6 separate regions of the Homo sapiens genome follow, and regions 1, 2, 3, 5 and 6 are each linked to region 4. Evidence: promoter capture Hi-C in 16 types of primary human blood cells and fetal thymus (Javierre and others, 2016). All regions are on one chromosome and are shown on one strand. The core of a region is centred on a gene start or on the middle of the fragment in contact, and the rest is flanking DNA. Distances in the headings are between cores, read along the strand shown. Region 1 overlaps ADAMDEC1 (ADAM like decysin 1). Region 2 has its middle 50 kb from the start of ADAM28. Region 3 holds the start of BIN3 (bridging integrator 3). Region 4 holds the start of SLC25A37 (solute carrier family 25 member 37). Region 5 has its middle 69 kb from the start of ADAM28. Region 6 has its middle 25 kb from the start of ADAM28.

Region 1 (3,305 bases), core at 363-2,862, 870 kb before region 4:
TGTTAATAGCCTATTTTCTACAGATTTTTGTGATTATTTTTTCTTTTCCTCTTTCTTCTCTGTTTACAACCTGGTTTATACACTGGCTTGATGAGAAAAGACCAACTCTCCCTCTGAGTAGAACTTACTTCTAGATCTCTAATTGTTACTGTTCAACAGATGATCAACTGTGACATTATGTCGTCTAGGGATTTCTGACTAATACACGTTTTGGAAAGATTGCAAGTGACATGTTATAGTTAACAATTTACTTTTTTACATTTAACTTCATATAATTATGTCAAAATCAAGTCCTAGTTTTTGAAATGCCTTTCAAAGGATTACTAAATTCAGTAGCAAAAACACAAGCACAAATCTCCTTTTTAACTACGATGCCAAGTTTGTCTTTAGAAAGAATTTCCAAAAGAATATTGGAAAACAAAAAGAAAACTGCATAATTCTTCTGCCCCAATAATTCTAATAAATAATACCTTAGGAGAGCCACAATCACAGTCTTCTCCCACTTCTAGAAGGTGGTTCCCACACACTGGTGTTGTCATTATATTTGTAGGAATAGGTGCTTGCAGCAGGCACTTTGGTTTCTGAGATAAAAGGTATCTTTCAAAATGTGCACGGCAAGATGTACTGAAATCCTTTGGGAATTTTGAACTGTAATCAGAAGAAAACTCAAATAATATGATATACAGTGTGGTGCCTTCTGCGTGAAACACAGAATAAAGATAAAGAAACACGAGACTCTGATTTATCTAACTGTATTACCGAGCTCAATGGAAATTCCAAATTTGGCAACCATTTAGGACTGCCCTGTATTAAATGTGGTGGGTGGTAGAGCATGCATACTATGGTATTTGGACATTTTTCTTCCTAGAGCCTAAGTCACAGAGCTGGAAGGATTTCAATTTCCATGTGGCCATTTAATGTTGTTCTAAAGGACAGCAGTGACAGCCATCACCATTTGTAATTATCCACTCATTTTGCATTGAGAATTGAGGGGCAAGAGATAATAATAATGAACCAGTGAAGGGAAGTAGTTGCAGGCTTCTGGGCTTTATGGAAATATTTCTCTCCTTCTTTGTGAGCATTTCAAGAACAAAGTATGTTTTATTTATTTTTCTATCCCAAAGTCTTTGCAAAGTGCCTGGCATTCACAGGTAATTCATAAATATGCAAAAACAGATTGATTGGTTGATTGATGATGGGAATATAAGAAGATCCTGTCATCAACATAATGAGATTAATATTTTTAGAAACTATGGGTTCATTTTCAGTTGGAATTATTTTAAGTTAAAATTATAAGGTCATCATACGTGCAAGCTCTATCTTGGCATATTTGGAAATCTTAAAGAATGAGCCCTGGTAGTTTTTAAAATTTGTGCATCAAGAGACTGGAAGTTGAATTAATGGGATACACAACCCTTGGGAAAAGATATGTCCATTCAACATCTGTAGACTGCTTCCGAATTCTTAAAGATTTGGAAAACTACTCATAATAGCAAAGACTTGGAACCAACCCAAATGTCCAACAATGATAGACTGGATTAAGAAAATGTGGCATATATACACCATGGAATACTATGCAGCCATAAAAAAATGATGAGTTCATGTCCTTTGTAGGGACATGGATGAAGCTGGAAACCATCAATCTGAGCAAACTATCGTGAGGACAAAAAACCAAACACCGCATTTTCTTACTCATAGGTGGGAATTGAACAATGAGAACACTTGGACACAGGAAGGGGAACATCACACACTGGGGCCTGTTGTGGGTGGGGGGAGGGGGAGGGATAGCATTAGGAGATATACCTAATGCTAAATGACTAGTTAATGGGTGCAGCACACCAACATGGCACATGTATACATATGTAACAAACCTGCAGGTTGTGCACATGTACCCTAGAACTTAAAGTATAATATATATATATATATATATGAAAAGAAACATTCATTGCAAGTGTCCCTAAACATAATTTACTTGTAAAATAGCACTTTTGATGTCTTTATGAAACATATATCAGCAGATTACTGTAATCCAAGACTAGGTTAAGAATGTAATATGTTACCCTACACGTTTTAAGATTGTTTTTTGGGTAACACTTTCAATCTATCCTGTTGATTAGTATGTATTTTATAAACAATTTTAAAATCTGTTTTGGAACAACACAAGATCTAATATTTAATTAAACAATAGAGAATAATATGTGTCTTCAGAAAAAAAAAAGATTTGGAAAATATCTCTCTCCTTTTAGGATGACAAGGTCTCACCTCAGATACTGATTCATCACACAACTGCCAGAGGGACACTTGGTGTTGAATGGAACATCAGGCATACCAAGGACATGGCCCAGCTCATGTGACATCACTCCTACAAGAGCCACATTATTCTTTTTTTTAGCCTGGAAAAAGTAGATATATTTATTTATTCTTTTTTTATTTAATTGTTGCCAATGTGCAGTACTTTAAAAATGGCTTAAGAGATGAAAACTAGTGAATTGTTAGCTCCTTTCCCTGTCACTGTGTATTGCAAAACGTTGAAAGAGCATTTAAAGTGGTTGGGTCCTATGAATACTTACATTTTATTCAATAAATATTTGTTGAACTAATGGATACTAAGTTACCAGTAAATCATGGTTGAATTAATTACATTCTTCATAGGAAGTACTCATAGGCACCATATCGGAGGTCTCCAAAACCTATTGCTATGATACCTATGACACTGGAGTTCTTGGCCATATGACACCTGCATGCACCCTTCTTCCTTGTCTGGCCTCTCTGGCCATAGATACTGGGGATGACTAGTATTAGCCCAGGCCACAGAGGGTACTGGATGCCCTTTCTGCTCCAATATTCCTACTCTGATTTTCTAACATGAACTAAAGAATGATATGGCACGTTCTAGCAAGGCTGATGTAAGGAAATGTTCTGTCGCATAACCCAAGGGATCTTCAGTGCAATGACCTACCAGTAGTTTCATTTCTTCCTTGATTCATTGATTCAGCAAATGTTCATTTTGCTCATTCTATATAAGGTGTTATGCTGGCCTTCATAGAGGATACAGAACCACAGAGAGCCTTACTACAAATTTACAAACCTCAATAACAGCAACCGAAGATGGGGAACACAAGGAATTTGAAGCTGCCAGTCCCACACGTCGATTGTTGAAGCTAATCCCGCTGTATGAAAAGTTACAGATACTACTGTCACAATCTGAGTCTTTGTAACCATTAGCTTTTGTTAATTACATTAACGAATTGCCTCGCTGCCCTAGCCTTTTTATATTCACTAGGCCCCAAAAAACTTCTACTATT
Region 2 (3,686 bases), core at 760-3,259, 710 kb before region 4:
TCAATTTGGAGAATGATGAGAATGTGTAAGTAAAAAATGTTGAAAGGTCAAAATAAATATCCTCACAGGGGCTCATGATGTAACTACAGAAACAGCTATAGAAACAGCTTATGATGTAGCTACAGAAAGAGGACAAGCTTACTGGAGTTGAAATAGAAACACTCCTAAGATCAATGGGCAGCACTTTTAAAGTACCACTGTTTATTCAGTAACATTTTTTACTAAAAATATTTGAAATCCCCAAATGACAAGCTACCCATTCTGTTGAGGAGGTAAAGACAGATGCTATGGCCTTGGGTCCTTAGCATCAGCTGGGAAATGCTCTTTGTGATGGGAAGTGACTCAGGTCCATCACAGCAACCGGGAGGCTGACAGGCTGGCTGTGATTGTGCAGAAGAGCCAACTTTTTGCAAGCGAACGTCAGATCTTCAGGCTCCTTCTCTACGTATTGCTGCCACCTAGTGATCAAATATTTTTGTGAAACACCAAAATAAGAGAAATGTAAGCACTCTCAGATTGCTTTTTTAGTTTAATGTTTATGTGAGCAATCTAAAGTGCTCAATAGGAATGCAAAAATTCATAAAGTTGAGTAACAATTTCATATTCATCATATATCTGGGTTCTTTGGAAGATGTATAAACTCTATTCCTTAAAAAAGTTTACAATCTACTGATTGACAAAATTGAAAGTAGTACAATATAGTATGAGTGGGACAAGATCCTTATACTTCTGCTCCTACTTTGGTGGTTTTGATATCAATACATGTATTAGTCCATTTTCATGCTGCTGATCAAGACATAACTGAGACTTGGCAATTTACAAAAGAAAGTGGTTTAAGGGAGTACTCACAATTCCACATGGCTGATGAAGCCTCACAATCATGGCAGAAGGCAAGAAGGAGCAAGTCACATCTTACACGGATGGCGACAGGCAAAGAGAGAGCTTTTGTAGGGAAACTCTCATTTTTAAAACCATCAGATCTCATAAGACTTATTCACTAGCAGGAGAACAGCACAGGAAAGTCCCGCCCCCCAAGATTCAATTACCTCCCACCAGGTCACTCCCACAACACATGGGATTTCAAGATGAGATTTTGGTGGGGATACAGCCAAACCATATCAGTATGTATAGGAATAACTACCATTTGCAGGATGTCTTCATTATGGCCAGCACTGAGCTTTGTGCTTTAAATAAATAATATTTATAATCCTCAAATCATGCATTTAAGAAAGTCTTTGTTACTGTATGTTTACCTATGACAATATCGAGTCACTGAAGTTCTGGAACTTGCTCAATGTAACACAACTGATGAGTTATATAGGCAGGATATTAACTCAAGTAGCTGACTTCAAATTTAGTATATTTTGAATAAGACTGCATTGACAAAATGAGAATGTTTTCAAACAATGCAGCATTTGCAAATCCATGTGAATGTTTTTTACTTCGAAGTATCCACCATAGGAGGTTATCTCCCTTTTAAATTATTCTAAAGATATTCCACCACTGCCCTAGATCATGTCTTGGAATTATTTTGGAATTAATTTTAGAACCACTCCAGAAGGAAAACCTGTATTACTAAATTTAGTAATCCCTATTTGATTTCACATTTTTTTTAAAAGTCCTAAGCTTCACACATTTTATTTTTATGACAAAGTCTGAGTGAGAATGAGTCAGACCCTGAAATTAATGCCAAAATATTACTGGCAATCAGTAATATTCTCAATGAGTTTCCCACAAACTGTTTCAGCTGCTTCTAACAGGTATAGCAAAACATCTTCAAAAAGATTCTATCAATAAGCTAGAAACTACCAAGAACACCAGAAAACAAAGACTTCCTATCTTTTGGAAATAAAAATGACTCTGTCTTAAATAGTCTGTGAGTTGGTGATGAAATAAAGCAAAAATTTCACAGTATCCCCAAATAGTGATCTAGTCACCCTTGTATATGGACTACAGTTAAAGTACAGCTCAGAGAAAAATTTATAGCCTTACTAAAAATAAATAAATGAATTAAACTTACAAATCCAAAAGTATGAAAAAACAAAATCAACTGAAGGAAAATGAAAGGAGAAACTGTTAAAGGCAGAAATATACCAGAAAAGAGAAAAGAAAATTAATAAAAATGAAAAATAATTCTGTAACAAAATAATCATCTAAATCTTATCAAGAAAAAAGGCAAGCTGCACAAATAAAGGTTGAAAAGACGGAAAATAACCACAAAAATTGAGAAAAAGATATGTAGAATACAACTTTGCACTGTATGCACATAAATAGGAAAATATGAATGAAATGGAAAATACTTAAAGATACATACTATACTCAATTTTCATTTTTTCTTTCTTCCAACCTTGCTGTCTTTGTGATTTGTTAATTTTTTGTGACGGTAAGCTTTGATCCTTTATTCTTTATTTTCTGTGTATCTACTAGAGTTATTTTCTTTGCAGTTACCGTGAGGCTTATATAAAACATTCTATAGTTACAAAGGTCTATTTTGAGCTAATAACAACTTAATTTTAATAACATAAAAAATTCTACAGTTTTACTCCCCTCTCCTCTTGCATACACATTTTATGCTATTGGTGTCTTGCTTTACATTATTTTATATTGTGTACCCATTAACATAGCAACTCACAGGGTAAAGCAAGATATTTTACTTTTTCCAGGCAAACACAATAATATTAGCAATCTGACTAACATGGTATATTATACTAGTGTAGCAGGACAAGCCGCAGACAAAACCCCTCAGACACCGAGTTGTAGAAGGAAGGGCTTTATTCAGCTGGGAGCATCGGCAGACTGACGTCTCCAAAAACCGAGCTCCCTGAGTGAGCAATTCCTGTCCCTTTTAAGGGCTTACAAGCTTTTTATCATTTGAAGAAATACACGTAGCAAACAAGGGAGCAGTAAGCAGGGTTTTATTACTATTATAACTCCTATTGTAAGAGTTTTACATCTTCTTAGCGCTGGGAACCATTTTCCAAACAAGGCCCCAGGATTAAATCCATGCCACACTTGCATGGGCACGTGTGCCAGTTTTGTCATATTTCTAACTATGTCTTCAACTACTTGCCCTAGATCATCTATGTGTAGACAGCAATTAGTAAGGTTAAATTTCCTACAGAGCCCTCTTTCAGCTGCTCACAAGTAGTCGAGAGCCAATCTATTTTGATAGATAGCATTTTTCATCTGAGTTTCTTGCCAGGCCAGAATAGTCAAGGCTCTGCCGGTCTTATTAGTGATTATTTCCAAGACAGATTGTAACCGTATGATTTGGTTGAGCATGTAAATGGGGGTCCGGTATCCCCATGAGCCATCTTGTGCCCAAGTAGCAGGCCCATAACATTGTATGATTCTCTCAGGGGGGCCATTCATTATTTTTCGAATTTCTTATAGCTATGCTTTTTTTTTTTTTTTTTTTTTTTTTTCATGGGAAGCATAGACAGGGAAGCCCAGGAGTTCGCCTGTCTTTATGGGCAGTAGGAAGAAAGATGGTTTAATAATGCCAATAACACAATTACCTGCCCACTGGTTGGGTAATTTGGTGTAAGCTCTATGCCCACATATCCAGTGTAATCCAGTGGGGGCTGTCCAGTCTCGGTGGGACTCCGGGTGGTTCCAAACGGTTTGCAACTTTGGAAATTTACTAAATAGATTTTTCTTAGTGTGGTTTGAACTCCACTAGGTGG
Region 3 (3,707 bases), core at 1,184-3,683, 860 kb after region 4:
GCGGCGAGCACGCAGCAGCAGAAGGGTTAACGCGCCGGGCTCCGCCTCCCAACCGCCTCTTCCGGGCAGAGAGGCGGGCTTACGTCACTTCCTGGAGACTGGTTGAATCCGGAAGTGACCCTAGAGAAACGAGTTGTGGCTGAGGACCCCGGCGGCAGACGCAGGTTCGGGACCATGAGCTGGTGAGTGAGGCCCAGGCGGCGGGAGCTGCTGGACCCGCGGACCCGCGAGGCCCCTGGCCCTGTGTCAGTGCCGCGTCCCGGCTCCCTCCGGTCCCGCGCGACCCCTCCGCCCCAGAGCAAGGCCCGACAGCCCCTGCCCTAGGGTCGTTCCCTCGGTGCTTTCCGGAGTCGCAGTCTCTCAGCAGGACTCCCGGGGAGAGTGGCGGATGATCCTCTTAGCCTGGGACTCCGCGTCTGACCCGTTTTGCCGGACTCGCGTCCTCCTAGCTCCTTGAAGTGAGGGACTTCCTTGTTCCCTCCTTTTTTAAACACCCATTGAGGTGGAGTCAGTGTCGTCTTTCTCTCCTGTGGGCATCTCTGCCCCGCGCCAGTCCCTCCAGAGCTGTGGCCCTCGCTGTGGCAGCCTGGACCCAGTTCACTAATCAAAACCCACTCCCTTCTGGGTAACTATCCTCTTTGCACGACTTAGCAGGCTTCAAAAGACAAGGAAAACTTGCTTCTCTTTTTAAAGGGGCCAGAATTACACTCCGCACACACCCTTCCACTGTGGGATTGGACTGGTTTTAATCATTCCAGAGCTATTACTCACTGCCTGCCCTCTAAATAGGCATGGTTAAGTTTAAACTTATGGGAACTATCATGCCATGAGAAAAGAAGCCAGGGAGTCTTAGAGTAATAGAGTCACAATTCCAGTTGCTGCAGTATGATGTGATACTTGGGTCATAGTAGACACTTCATAATGGTGTATTTATTTTGTAAGACTCAGTTTGCCCAAAAGGCAATCCCCATTTGTTGCTCTCGATTATTTATGTTCACAGGAGAGAATTGTGACTTGCCTGCCTTCCTGGGGCTTTCTTAGAGGTTAGAGAATACTCATATGCAGCACCTTACCTTACCGTCAGGCCCAAGGACCTATATAGCCACAACCCTGGACCTCAGGGGATTCAACTATAGTGTGTGAATAAATTGAGCCCCAGAGATGTACAAGATTAATCAGCCCATGGACATAGGGAACATATTTGCCACTCTGTCCTCAGAGGCTAGTGTGTTTGTTTATGCAAAGCGCATGATAACCAGTTATGAATGAATTAAGATAACAGAATGTCCTTCAGGAAGGCTTTTGAAGCTTAATTTTGGCCATCAGTGGAGAACGCAAGCAGCTGATATCAGTCAGTGTCAGGGATACTTCTCTAAAGTAAAATGCGAACCATCTGTCCCCTCCCCCACCTGTTTCTTAGACCAAGATTGATGGACAAATGTCAGACAATCACCGCAAGCACGGGAGGAAAGCCTGAAGCAATGTCCTAATAAGCCCCGGCAGGAGCTTCTGCTTTTCCCTCCACCATTTGCTCCAGGAGGCCAATAAGGGGCTGGAGCCTTAAAAAGCTACCTTCCCTGTCTTGTTATAACCTAGTTAGTGGTGGGCAAAGCGGCAATTCTTCAGTTCCCTTTCCCAGAGGAATTACGTCCTTTCAGTGTCATTCTGGGCCCCCCAGTCTTGCAATATAGATATCCTTTTGGCTGCTGCGTCTTGAATCTTTGGAGTGTTCTTACCTAATTTTTCAAAGTGAAAATGAGGCAGTACAGATGCTTTATATTGCCTAGATTGGCCTTTACTGAACCAATCTTTCCTTCACAAGTTGGGAGAAGAGCACAGCAGAAACTAATAAAGGTAAATGATTCTCTGGGTGATCCGAAGCAGGTTGTTTCCACCTGTCTCACAGAAAGTTTCCCTTCTGAAAAAATAGTAGCCCATTCCTTAAAGGTTATCCTGTCAGGTTGGAGAGAATTGAGATTGACAACTGTCTAACAAGAGCTGAGATTTTCATCTAGTAGCTTTAATTTACCAGTACATGCACATCTTGGTATCTCCTTGGACTGAGAGTCACAGCCAGAAGGGTGGCTTTGTCCCTCAAAGCTGAGATTCCTTTCTCTTCCCCCTTAAAGGGCTTCTACGTCATCTCTTGCGTGGACCCTGACCCTGTCTCTCAAAGACGGGAACAGCACCGGCGCCTGGGCACACAATCACACTCAGTTCCTAGCTCAATGGCTGGCAAGGAGACCGGGGCTGGGTCCTTCTGATTCACTCCCTGAGTGGTTTTCCTGCCCCCAGAATGAATCCATCCATTCATGTGAGACTGGAATTCTCATTAGGGGAAGAGACCAGAGTGACGTAGAGCCATCATGGGAGGCTGATGCCCAAGGTCAAGTTCACCAAGTACATGGGCTGTGCCAAGCCATCATTAAATAAGGCACATGGCCCATGGTCCCCAGAGGGTAACCATTGTTCTGGGCTAGGCTGAGCTTTCAAAATGTCACAGTGAGAAATGTCCAATATTGATGCCCTTTGCACACTGTGGACTTTGCATGAAGAGTGAGAGGCCTTTGTTCTCTGCTTCCTCTGTGCAGGCAACCCGCCCACCCCCTGTTTGTTTAGTGGGTACCTGCTGCCTTCCTGCACCATCTACCCATCCACTCCCCATACACCCATCTGCCTTTCAGAAAAGTGACCCGGTGGTCTGTCCTACTAGGAAGAAGGCATTTGATATTCACATCTCAGATCACAGATTCACTTCTTGGCCTCAAGCCAAATGCTTCTCTCTCTCTCGCTCTCTTTTTCTCTCCCATTGTCCACCCCACCTCCCCCCGCCATTTGCCCCCCTCCCAACTTTCTCTCCTCTCCTCCCCACTCACCCCCTCCCTCCCTATTTCTGTCTCCCTCTTGTCTCCCTTTTCCCCTTCCTGTCTCTCTTCCCCATCTTCCAGTGTATACTCAGGTGGCTTTATTATGGTATGGAGAGAGGATTAAGTAGAATTAAGAATAGTGACCTCAATCTAAGCTGGCTCCAGGAATTGTAGCCTCCTGTTGAACCATACACCTTGATGATTTTAGGCTTAAACGAGGAGGAAAAGGGAGTACTGGAAGAAATCTCCCTATACCTAGGGGTCCAGTAGTTTGACAAAAAGGAAGGAAATTAGAGGCAGAGCAGGTAAGTGTGAGTAGGAGTTAGAGTGCTGCGTTCAGGTTCTGGCTCAGCCACTCACAGTGCGGCCTGGTCAAGCATTGAGCTGTTCTCTGTCTTAGTTTCTCCATCTGTAGCATGGAGTGGCCATTCCTGCTGACAATTTGCCACCTGAGCCTGCTGTGAAATGAGTGGAGTGATATTTTTCTGACTCTTCCGGGGTCTTCTACCTCTGTCTGCCCTTCACACTTTGGTGTTCCTCATGTTTGATCCTTTTTGTTTCTTTCCTGTTTTCACCCTGTAGTCCCTTGCCATCATCTTCAGGATAGAGGCCCAACTCTGGGCCAGGGCTTCTGAGGCCCTCTGGGCCTGGCTGTCCATCTTCACTCCGTGTGTTCCATCCTCCAAGCTTCTCCTGCTCTCTCGTGCCCATGTGCCTCTGGATAACTGTCCCTTCTGCCTGAAATGTTTCCCCTTCACTCACACCCTGTCCACTAGGCCAGCATCTACTCATCCTTCAAGAGTCAGGCCACGCTTCACCTTCTCTGAGGGTCTTCCCTGA
Region 4 (3,369 bases), core at 71-2,570:
GCTGCAGCCAGAGGATAGGAGGTGGTGTAGGAGCCTGGGCAAGGTAATCGGTTCGCCTCTCTGCGCCTCAGTTTCTTCATCTGTTAACCCCCAGGGCTGTTGCATGAATTAGGCGAGTTATGCCTATAAAAGTGCAACGTGTAACAGTCAATACTGGCATTACTTCCTGCACTACTCTATCCTGGCCCTGGGGTGTTCTGGGCAGGCTGACAGAGGGCAGGTCTCAGTCTACCAGGCAAAACGCACCTAGTAACGCTGCCTCTTTACAGAAATGCAGTTAAAACTACCGGGGCAAGTGACAGACAGGGTTTAAAGGAAACTGAGTGCCTCTCACACAATCCACAGCAAGGGCTGTAAGGCACAAGCCCACCCACCTCCCCGCAAGCAAAAGGAGAAGGCAAACGTCATTGCCTCCCGGCGGCTCGGCGACCCAAAGTCGGGGGAAGAAGTGCAGGAACCCTCAGAAAGGGGATCCCACGGGCCGCTGTCGAACCGGTAAAGAGCTGCCACTAGTCGAGAGAAGACTTGCCGGCCCCAAGTTCCCGAAATAACCCGGGGAGCAGCAGCCACACACCAAGTCCCGAGGGCGCGCGGCCGGGCCAGGGCCACACGTTTCTCAGCTCCAGCGTGGTGAGGGCTTCCCCTGCGGGGAGCTCCCTCGGAAACCGCGCACGTGTGGGCGGCCCCAGCCAGCCCGAACGGCCAGCGTGGTAAGACTGTGCAGAGCTTCAGCGATCGCGTCCCCCGGGAGCCCAGTCGCCGCCGAAGCCAGCGGTGCTCGCCACTCCGCCTCCCCCGCCTCAGCGCCGCCAGCAGCCGGGGCCGGGCACGCGGCTGGAGCAGCGGGCGGTGCGGGGCGAGGACCGGGCACCCTCGCGGGGTCGGCGGAAGGCGCGGCGCCCAGGCTGCGCGCAGCTGCTCCTGGGGCGACCCCGGCCAGCCGCGGTCCTGGGGAGAGCTCGGTTTCGGGACGCTGCCCCGAGGCTGCCGGCGCGCGGGATGCAAATGCGCGCGCGCGCTCCTTCTCCGCTCGTTGCGTCCCCGAAGTCTCCCCGCGCCTCACCTTCACCGAGTCCACCGGGTACATGACCGAGTGCTCCAGGATCCCGGCCATCGCTCCTGCTGTCATGTGGGTGGACACGGAGGCGCTAGTCGGCAGGTTCTCGTAGTCCTCCGACCCGGTGGCGTCCTTGCCGCCGCCGCCATCTCGGCTGTCCCCATCCATCCTCCGCGCCACCGCCTGGCTGCCCACGCTCCCGCTGCGCAGCTCCATCCGCCAGCTCGGCGGGGCGCAGGAGGCTGCAGGAGGTGGGCAGGGAGGGGGAGGGGCGCAAAACTTCACTTCTTAAAGTGGGAGCCACCTCCCCGGGGCCGCGGCGCCTGACGCCATGGCGGGCTGGGGTGGAGCGCAGCGGCCAGAGACACCAATCGCCGGGAACCAAGAGGCCGGCGGCCGCCGCGCCATTGGTGTGCGGGACAGTGGGGACCCGCCTCCCTGTGTGACGTCACCGTCCCGTGCACATTTCCAAGCAACCGGACGGGGGCGAGAGGAGACGTGGGGTGGCCCGGAAAGTTGTACTATCTTGAGGATGGGCTGGTCCGCGAGGGGCAGGGGAGGTCATTGGGGAGGGGCCGCAGTGGGGTATGCCCAGAGCTGGAGGCATGGGTGACAGTGTCTCGGGGAAAATCCGTCCCCGTGGCGGGTGGGTTTGCAAACAGAATCGCTCAGTGAGCTTTGGCATTCCTAAGGCCTGAATTCAAACCTCAGGGGCCCGTTCTAGACTGCTTTGTTGGAGAGACCCCCATTCATTCGAAATTGTTTCTCTCAACCTAAATACATAATGCAGAGCTAAATGTGTTCCTCTTGTTCTCACCGAGAGACCGAACCCACCCTGCCCTGGACCGAGCAAGGCTATAAGGAGTGACCAGGAGGGAGCCCCTCTGAGTAGGCACCTCCAGGAAATTTTCTTTGGGTTTGATAGGCCCATAAGGTCTGTAGAGGCCTGATCTCACAGTTAGGAGTGTGAACTGGCTGAGAGTAAAATCTTACAGCCTTGCCCCTGCCTGTCTTAAGACTGTGGTCACCTAGTTCTTAAAGTCGTCCTAAGCTGGCCTCTTCAATAAAGTGTAACCCAGGCTGTTTTAATATTGTTTTGCTCCAGTCTGGGGAAAAAGGGAGAAATCAGAAAGTAGGGGAGGGACCTGTCTGCCTCTGGAAGTGTCCGTCTAAATTGCGTGTTCCAGGGCTTAAGATGACTTGGGCTGATCAACTTGTAGGCACCAGGGCCTCCCTGCCTTATCTAGACAAGGCTTCTCGTCAGGAAAGCTGGATCCTGAGATATGAAAGGGTGGGGAAGACCCTGAAGAGGCTGAGCCTACTCTCTGCCCTCACCGTGATCAGCATCCCAAGCAGCTCTTAGGGATTTGAGATACAGTAATGTGAGCATGGGTAGAGGTCAATAGAGGCGTCAGGACCAAGAGCACTGTTTGCCTAGTTTTGGTAGCTGCAGATAGTAGCTGGCAAGCTGAGTGCTAAGGATGTGATAAGTAAAAACAGGCTCTGTGTTTTTACTTAGCCATCTCTGTAATGGCTAGAGAAAACTCTACTTTTGTCAAAGGTCGTTTTTAAGAAATACTGATCAGAAGCTGTTGATCCTTATTTTTAAGTGGATGCCCTTTAAGCATTAAGTCTGTAAGAACCCACTGCCCCACTTCTGGGAATGTAACAAAAACCCAAATACACAGGAAGCTCTTCTTCAAAGCATTCCTTAGAGCAGTAAATCATTGGAAACAACCTAAATGGTCAACCAGAAGGGAATGGCTAAGGAAATTATGATGTGTGCATAATATTAGTGAAATATTATGCAGCCTTTACAAGTGGAATTTACATTACACGACATGGACGATGATTATAATGTAATGTTAGGTGAAAAAAACAAAACGAAATTCTATAACCATTGCATTCACAAAGATGTAAATGTGCTCAGGAAAAGAATCGCATGGTTACTGTGCTAGTGATGGAGGCTTATAGGCAACTGCTTTGACTTTATTTTTCAGACTTTAAATAATACTTTTATTATTTCTGTAATTTAAAAATAAAAAACCATTCTTTTTAGGAAATATATACCATATTTACACATACATACACACATCTATATATAGAAGTATATATGTATAGAATATAGATATGTGCATATGTATAAGATATATAGATAGGATATAGAATATACACATATGTACATATATAAAATATGTTGATTTGTGTATATAAATATATATAGATATATGTGTATATATAAATGTATTTTTTTACTTAGCCTCTCAGCATTCATATCCATGTGTATATATAAAATATATATACATTTTATG
Region 5 (3,794 bases), core at 1,246-3,745, 700 kb before region 4:
AAATATATTCACATCCAGGTAAACCCTACAAGCAGTATTAGATAAACTATGGCCACCCCTCTTGGTACGTCCTCTTTATGATAGTTTTCCTCTGGAGAAAATTCAAAAATCAAGTTTTACCCTGAAGTAATGAAATAAAAAATTTCATTTAACTTTTGAGAGCTTCAGTCATTACTTTTCATATTTTGAGCCTAAGTTTAATCCTGAATATTTCTGGATTTCAAATTCCTTAGTAATGCTAATCACTGGAATTACAATTTTTTTTATCACATATACCACACATCTGCTAAAACACAAAGTACATTTTACTGAAACTGTTTGATATTTGCCTAAGTAATCGGTGAAATTCCTATAAGATTTTATTTCATTCATCCTCATGTCTCATAGTACATGTAAAACTAAAGATAAATGCATGGTAAATGAATAATTCAAGATTGAGTAGATAGATGAGTGTTTGTAAGAATCAAGCACAAATAGGGTCAGTCCAGGACAGGGAAAAGTGATAAAATGGAAAATGAACAAAGATAGAAATTTAGGGATCAACTACACTTAGGTCATTGCAAAAAGAAAAGTTGGAGAAAACTATGATAAACAATCAGAGAGCTAGGGAAAGAGGCCATTGGTATTTTGTGTTGTGGAAAACAAAGAGGACATTTTTAGAAGTTTGGGTTGGCAATAGTGTTAAAGGTTAGAAATGATAGGAAATGTGGTAGTTATTAGAACTGTCCATAAATATTCCAGCCCTCTCTCCCCTTTGTGGTACATTAAAGACTGTTTCCCTGACTTGTTTTGGCTGATGAAATGTGATTGGAAATGACTTGTGTTATTTTCCATTGAAAGCTTTGATAGCCAGTGACAACTTCCCCATGTCTCCTTTTGTTTCCACTGCTAGGTGACAGAACGTTTAGATAACAGCTGCTTCATTACCTTGGGACTAAGCACAGGGTGCCGTGTAATGTGAACTCGATTCTTCTCCCAACCCACAAAGGACATGTTGCATGAATAAGAAATACATCTTAGTTCTTTAAAGCCATAGATTGTGGGACTGTTTGTTAATACAGCATTAACTAGCCTGTTCTGACTGACACAGAGAGTGAAAAGAAGTAATAACCTGTTATTAGATAGGAAGTAATTAAAATAACAAGGAAGTAGACTGAAAGACTTAAACAATGAGTCATTGATAAGAAATTAGGGGAAAGGGTGTGAACTACTCATTTAATGTAAAAAGAAGAGAACCTACCTGTTACATCTATAAAAAATGTTATTTGATTTGGGAGGCCAAGGTGGGTGGATCACGAGGTCAAGAGATCAAGACCACCCTAGCCAACATGGTGACACCCTGTCTCTACTAAAAATACAAAAATTAGCTGGGCATGATGGTGTGCACCTGTAGTCCCAGCTACTCAGGAGGCTGAGGCAGGATAATCACTTGAACCTGGGAGGCAGAGGTTGTAGTGAGCCGAGATCGTGCCACTGCACTACAGCCTGGTGACAGAGTGAGACTCCATCTCACAAAAAAAAAAAAAAAAAAAAGTTATTTGGAAAAAGAATCCTAAGAAATAATGGGAAAAATGTGTATTGACACTATACAGGGAATAGTTTCATGTTTGGAAAGTGTTGAAGAAGGCTATATGCAATATACCCGCAGGTGAGAAATGATTGATGAAATTACTGAGTGAACTGCTGTTCATCACAATTCAAAAGTCTGTATTTGGAGAAAATAGCACTTATTACCTAGCAGAACTACAATACCATCTTCTAGCTTAAAAAATAAAACACTAGAAGTGCAGATGTCTCTTGGGGCGATTGGTAAAGGCCTAATCTCCATCTACTAGCTTCTTGGAGAACTAGAGAGTCTTCTTTTGAAGTCACTCATTTGTGTTGCTAAGTGAAGAATACTCTAAGTGAAATATGGTTGATATTCCAATTGGCTACTAACAAAGTAATTTGGAGAGGGTGTCACCGGCTGAGTTATACTCAAGCTTCCATAACAACTATGTAAAAGAAACTTTGTAGTGCAGAAGCAAACTTGACTGTGCGGAATACTGCCCGTTATTTTCACCAAAAGTCCTGGATATATGATCTGGCATAGTTAAACCTTAATAAAACTAATTTTTTTCATGTCCTGCAGAGTTTTGTTAACTCAAATAGAGACTTGAAAGATATATTTCTAAAAACACCCATTTTGACTCTCTGAAATAGAAAAAGATTTTGTATCAAAGGTCCTGAAATAAAAACATAAAATAGAAAAATATAACCTGTTAGTACCAGAGCAGTGAACAGAAACATCCATATAAATAAAGGAGAAGTCAGTAAGTATATCTTGTGAAAGCTACTGAAAGAATCAGAACCCGAGGACTTCAGAAAATCTTGAACTTTCAAAGAAATCTGAGAGAGTATGGCAGCTATGAATTTAGAAGAGGAGGGGAAAAAGTCACTATAGAAAATAAGGATATGATTACTAAACAGAAAAAGTGCAGTGGAGGAACTGAACTGTTTAAATTATTAAAGTAGAAGACAATCTTAAGAAGTCACCTAGAAAAATCAGAGTAAGACAATAAATACAAAAGTGTTAAGAAACAATCAGAATTATAGGTAACAGAACAGAGATGTCAAATGTCATTGTAAGTGAAATTTCAAAAAAGTGAGCTGAGAAGGCATAATAAAGGAAGGAGAAAACTGGCCTAAGATAAAGAAAACCTGAATATTTAGATGTGAAAGGCCTCTTACTAAAAACTAGATAATTTTAATTAAAAATACCCACATCCCCCAATATTTTATCACTAAATATGTTACAGGGACATTTTAAAAATTATTTATAGAAAAAAAATTATATGCTCATCTTAAAATTATATGAACTTTACATAGGAAAATGGAAAATAGTAATACTTAGTTTATCAAAGAAGAAATATATATAGCCAGTAAATGGGTGGGAAAACAAGGATTTAAACGAGAGTGACAACTTTAACTTATTCCATTGGAGTTAATTAAAATAGAATAAAGCTTGATGTTATCAAAAATACACAGAAATATGAACCCTAGAATATTTTTAAGAGCAGAATCAGAGCAAACTGTATGACAATTGAAAGCAGGTAGTTAATGCTTTTTGTAAACTCTTTGACAAAATTTGTTTCCTAGAATGTATCTAAAGGAAAACAATTATCTGTATGTGCAAATATCTAGCCATAAGAATATTCAGCAAGAAAATAAAACAATAGTGTATCATCACAAATTCAGTATCTAACATGGGGCCTTGGGGTAAAGACATTACATTCATGAATCACATACTGTTGATGTATTAGGTTGGTGCAAAAGCAATTGCAGTTTTGCTTCAAAGAATAGAAAAGTATTCATCAAATTGGAAAAGAACAAGTTTTTAAAGATACAAATAGTATATTTTAAGATTATGATCATATCTGCCTAGAATTAAAAAGCCACATGTTCACATTTGTTTTCTGGACAAGATTCCCTAGTCAAACAACCCTCCTTATCACGGGGACCAGGGACACTTAATACTTATCCCTAAGTAGCAGGCTTCAGTTTTTTGCCAGTCCACAGAAATATCAAACAAGCCCATCACATTGCTCCTACAGGAACCAGAAGATACCTCCCGCTTTGATGCTGCAAAGCCCCGCTAACGTCCCACAGCCTCTGGTTGTTTATGATATCCCTCAATGTAATCCCTACGTGGCCCCATGCGTGGCATGTGATGTCCTCTTCCCCTAGGCTGTGAGTGTTTGTGACTAATACACTGTTGTTGATCTCATAGGCACAGTGCTGAGTGTCATGAGTTT
Region 6 (3,422 bases), core at 25-2,524, 740 kb before region 4:
TAGGTAACATGCACGTTTATTCAGTACACATGCATCAGGATCCCCTTCATGGATATTAATAGCTCCTCCTATAGCCTGTTGAATCTGAATACTTAGCCAACCTATTCAGCACAAATCCCTGTTCCAACCCCTGCTTCAGAGTGCCTGCCTTTAGGGCTCTGCTGGAGGCTACGCTTCCTGGCCTATCAGAAGGGTCACCTTGCAGGCTGTAACTCTTTACAAGAAATAAAGTCTTCTTTCCAAATGTATAGATGTCATGATTTTTTCAGTTGAGTTACCTTTCCTGGTGACAAACCAAAATAATACATAGAATTTTCAGAAGATATTTGATCATAGAACTATTTCTGGTAGAAAAATGTTTACTATCTGTTCTAATTCTTTATGGCAGCCAGTCAAACTACCACACACACTTTAATATACTCATCAAACAAACATTTATGAGTATTGTATCCCTCACAGTTCCAGAATGTGCCTGGGTTTAGCCAGGACTTTCTTGCCTAGAGCCTCTGGTGCAATTGTCATTAGTCGGCAGTTGGGTCTGGAAACATCTAAAGGCTCACATTTTCTCATATGTCTGGTGGTAACTGCGGCTGCTGCCTGGGACCCAAGCCAAGCCAGGCGCCATCTGGGCCACCCTCACAAAGGTGCTCCATGTGGCCTGGGTTCTCTTTAGACCCTGGCATCTGAGTCCTAAGGGCAAGTGTCCCAAGACAGACCAGGTGGAAATTGTGTCGTCTTTTATGTTCTACCCTCAAAAGCCATGCAGTGTCAGCCAGGCACAGTGGCTCACGCCTGTAATCCCAGCACTATGGGAGGATGCCAAGGCAGGCGGATCACGAAGTCAAGAGATCGAGACATTCCTAGCCAACATGGTGAATTCCAGTCTCTACTAAAAATACAAAAATTAACTGGGCGTAGTGACATGCGCCTGTAGTCCCAGCTACTCGGAAGGCTGAGGCAGGAGAATCGTGAATCACTTGAACCCAGGAGGCAGAGGTTGCAGTGAGCTGAGACAGCACCACTGAACTCCAGCCTGGGCAACAGAGAGAGACTCCGTCTCAAAACAAAACAAAAGCCCTGCAGTGTCATTCTCACCACATACTATTCATTAGAAACAAAACACTAAGTCAAGTTCACATTCAAGGGAGGAGGAATTAGACCAATGGTCCCCAACCTTTTTGGTACCAGAGACCAGTTTCATGGAAGACAATTTTTTCACTGCGGAACAGGGGCATGGAGGTGGGGGGCACAGTTCTGGGATAAAACTGTTCCACCTCAGGCATTAGATTCTCATAAGGAGTCTACAACCTAGATTCCTCGCGTGCACAGTTCACAATAGGGTTCACACTCCTGTTGTTCCCCAAACCATGCCAGACCCAGCTGTGTTTTCTCGAGGCCCAATAATGAGAAGCAGACAAGGAAAGAAGGAAGTTAATTACTGTAACTAGATACAGGGAGAAGGCTGGAGATAATTCCACCAGACCAACTCAAAGCATCACAATTTTGCGAGTGCTTATGTAGGCTGGGATTATGTGCCTACGTACAGTATAGCATTTGCCTAAGTCTATTGTTAACTAATTTTGTTTTAACTAGAAGGTCAGAAGCAAAAAAATACTAAGTTCGATTAAAAGGGCCCCAGTGCCTTCAAGGCCTGTCTGCTGTGGTACTGGAGTGATTATTTCCATCATATCTCCTTTACAGCTTGGTCCTGAGGGCTGCCTTAGACTCTCCGATGAATCTATTCAAACAGCTGTCTCTGTTACCTTGACTTGTCTCAGATTTTGTCGACCTAAGATTGGTCCTGGCATTAGGAATGTAAAACTGTTTCTATTATTTTGACTTGCTCCAGCAAGGGAGAAGCCCATGCAAGGCTACTACTGGCCGTATGTTTCATTTCTGGCTTTGATGTCTGGGCACCGATTTCCCTAGGTTTAACTATTTGCTCAATGTTAAGGCAGCACTGTGGAAATTTGTGTAACTGGGTGCTATGCAGGCCTGTCTGTGTGATTATCAGGGAGAATTGGCCTGCCACACTAAGATCAGTGGCTGCATTAGATTCTCAAACAGCAGGTGCAGCTCAGGTGGTAATGCTCACTCACCCACAGCTCACTTCCTGCTGTGCAGCCTGATTTCTAACAAGCCACCGGCCAGTAATGGTCCATGGCCCGGGGCTGGGGACCGCTGAATTAGACTACTCCTCTTAACGGGAAGAATGTCAAAAATTTGAGAATATGTTTTTGAATCATCACATCATTTTAGGCAGTATTTCTCAGAAGATAGTTTGGGAAACTCTGAAACTACTTTTAGTAAGAGTCCAGAGTCTGGAGTACTACAGTACTAATACTTCACATTTGAGTCTTATTAACTTATTAACTAAAGCAAAAAAAAGGGCTAAACAAAAAGACAGGGATACCTAGTTGATTTATCACACCCTGTGATCCTGTGTCATATCATACAGAATGTATGAGAGCTCAGTTCTACTTCCAAGTAGGCTGGACTTAAGTTTCCCAGGAGCTGACCAAACCCAAAATCTACCTGGACTCTTCCTGTGCTTTGAACCCTGTATCCACAGTGACCACACATCTGAGTTTCCCTGGGACGGTCCTGGTTTTCTCCTGTTGTTCTGGCCTGTTGATAGAATTGTGTGTCACAGTAAATTATGTAGTGGCTCTCCTAAGCTCTCAATCTAGTACTTTTCATGGCAAAACCGCATTACTTTTGCACCCACCTAATACTGGCAAGCCGTTCTATTCACCTGTAGTTTCTATACCATGCTCATCCCGACTTCCATTTACATTGCCATGCCTGGACTTCTGCAATTTTCCAGTCTGCAAATTCTCTCCTCCAGAGCATTCTGTACTCCCCATTCAGATGGATCTTTCTGAAACATCACTTTGATTGTTCTTGTAAGTCTTCAGCAACATCCCTGCCTCTGACTACACCCAGCTCCTCATGGCAGTCTTACTGCTGTCCCACCCAAAGGTTTAGTCAGTCCCATGCAGCACTTGAGTCCATCTTAAATAATATGGGATCCAAAAAACAGTCTCTGCTCCTCTCCATATTTAGCAGATGTGAGAAGGAAACATGACCCTTTCTAGACCCAGGAATAAGTGGTCCTGTCTTGCCTGCTGGATTGGTATGATATTCTCTGAGTTTCTTTTGCTGTCCAGAACTGTTGTTGCCAGAGGAGATTTCTGGATACAAGTTATATGGCTGATAGAACACCTTCTCTATCCCTAGTCATTTTTCTGGTGTTTTCTGATTTGACGGATTTTTTTTAATAGAGGTGTCCTGATGCCTTCAGGCCCACCTTAAGACTTTTCTAGATCTAAGACAGTGCAGAGGGTTTTGCCAGCCATGTACAGTTCTCAGAAATAACAACTGCCTCCCTGTCCTCTGGCCTAAATCTGAAAACTCACCTT

The links. The method cuts DNA at HindIII sites, captures the fragments that hold promoters and counts their contacts. A CHiCAGO score of 5 or more calls a contact.
Region 1: a fragment that was not itself captured here is called in contact with the fragment with the promoter of SLC25A37 in region 4 in 4 of 17 cell types (M2 macrophages, total B cells, M0 macrophages and 1 more); the score reaches 8.1 in M2 macrophages.
Region 2: a contact is called between a fragment that was not itself captured here and the fragment with the promoter of SLC25A37 in region 4, in 1 of 17 cell types (total B cells). The highest score is 5.7, in total B cells.
Region 3: a contact is called between a fragment that was not itself captured here and the fragment with the promoter of SLC25A37 in region 4, in 1 of 17 cell types (neutrophils). The highest score is 7.1, in neutrophils.
Region 5: a fragment that was not itself captured here is called in contact with the fragment with the promoter of SLC25A37 in region 4 in 1 of 17 cell types (total B cells); the score reaches 5.3 in total B cells.
Region 6: a fragment that was not itself captured here is called in contact with the fragment with the promoter of SLC25A37 in region 4 in 4 of 17 cell types (M2 macrophages, M0 macrophages, total B cells and 1 more); the score reaches 6.7 in M2 macrophages.

Annotation. Positions count from the first base shown.
Region 1 is chr8:24,399,258-24,402,562 of GRCh38, reverse strand. It overlaps ADAMDEC1 (ADAM like decysin 1), which reads right to left. Exons shown (of 14, transcript NM_014479.3): 10 at 3,089-3,170; 11 at 2,263-2,393; 12 at 471-648. The region is part of intron 1 of ADAM7-AS1 (ADAM7, ADAMDEC1 and ADAM28 antisense RNA 1); the gene reads left to right. Among named protein-coding and RNA genes, the nearest start is that of ADAMDEC1, 17 kb to the right of the region's middle. The HindIII fragment of the contact is 4,870 bases long and covers 1-3,305 here.
Region 2 is chr8:24,241,920-24,245,605 of GRCh38, reverse strand. No RefSeq gene overlaps it. Among named protein-coding and RNA genes, the nearest start is that of ADAM28, 50 kb to the left of the region's middle. The HindIII fragment of the contact is 762 bases long and covers 1,629-2,390 here.
Region 3 is chr8:22,665,519-22,669,225 of GRCh38, reverse strand. BIN3 (bridging integrator 3) reads left to right here and starts at 105. Exons shown (of 9, transcript NM_018688.6): 1 at 105-182. The coding sequence starts at 175. RefSeq lists an enhancer at 1-382 and a silencer at 246-405. The HindIII fragment of the contact is 2,246 bases long and covers 1,311-3,556 here.
Region 4 is chr8:23,526,907-23,530,275 of GRCh38, reverse strand. It overlaps SLC25A37 (solute carrier family 25 member 37), which reads right to left and starts at 1,320. Exons shown (of 4, transcript NM_016612.4): 1 at 1,064-1,320. The coding sequence starts at 1,273. RefSeq lists enhancers at 217-286, 1,577-1,626 and silencers at 787-1,036, 1,087-1,446. The HindIII fragment of the contact is 6,335 bases long and covers 1-3,369 here.
Region 5 is chr8:24,222,823-24,226,616 of GRCh38, reverse strand. No RefSeq gene overlaps it. Among named protein-coding and RNA genes, the nearest start is that of ADAM28, 69 kb to the left of the region's middle. The HindIII fragment of the contact is 1,021 bases long and covers 1,985-3,005 here.
Region 6 is chr8:24,267,567-24,270,988 of GRCh38, reverse strand. No RefSeq gene overlaps it. Among named protein-coding and RNA genes, the nearest start is that of ADAM28, 25 kb to the left of the region's middle. The HindIII fragment of the contact is 4,732 bases long and covers 1-3,422 here.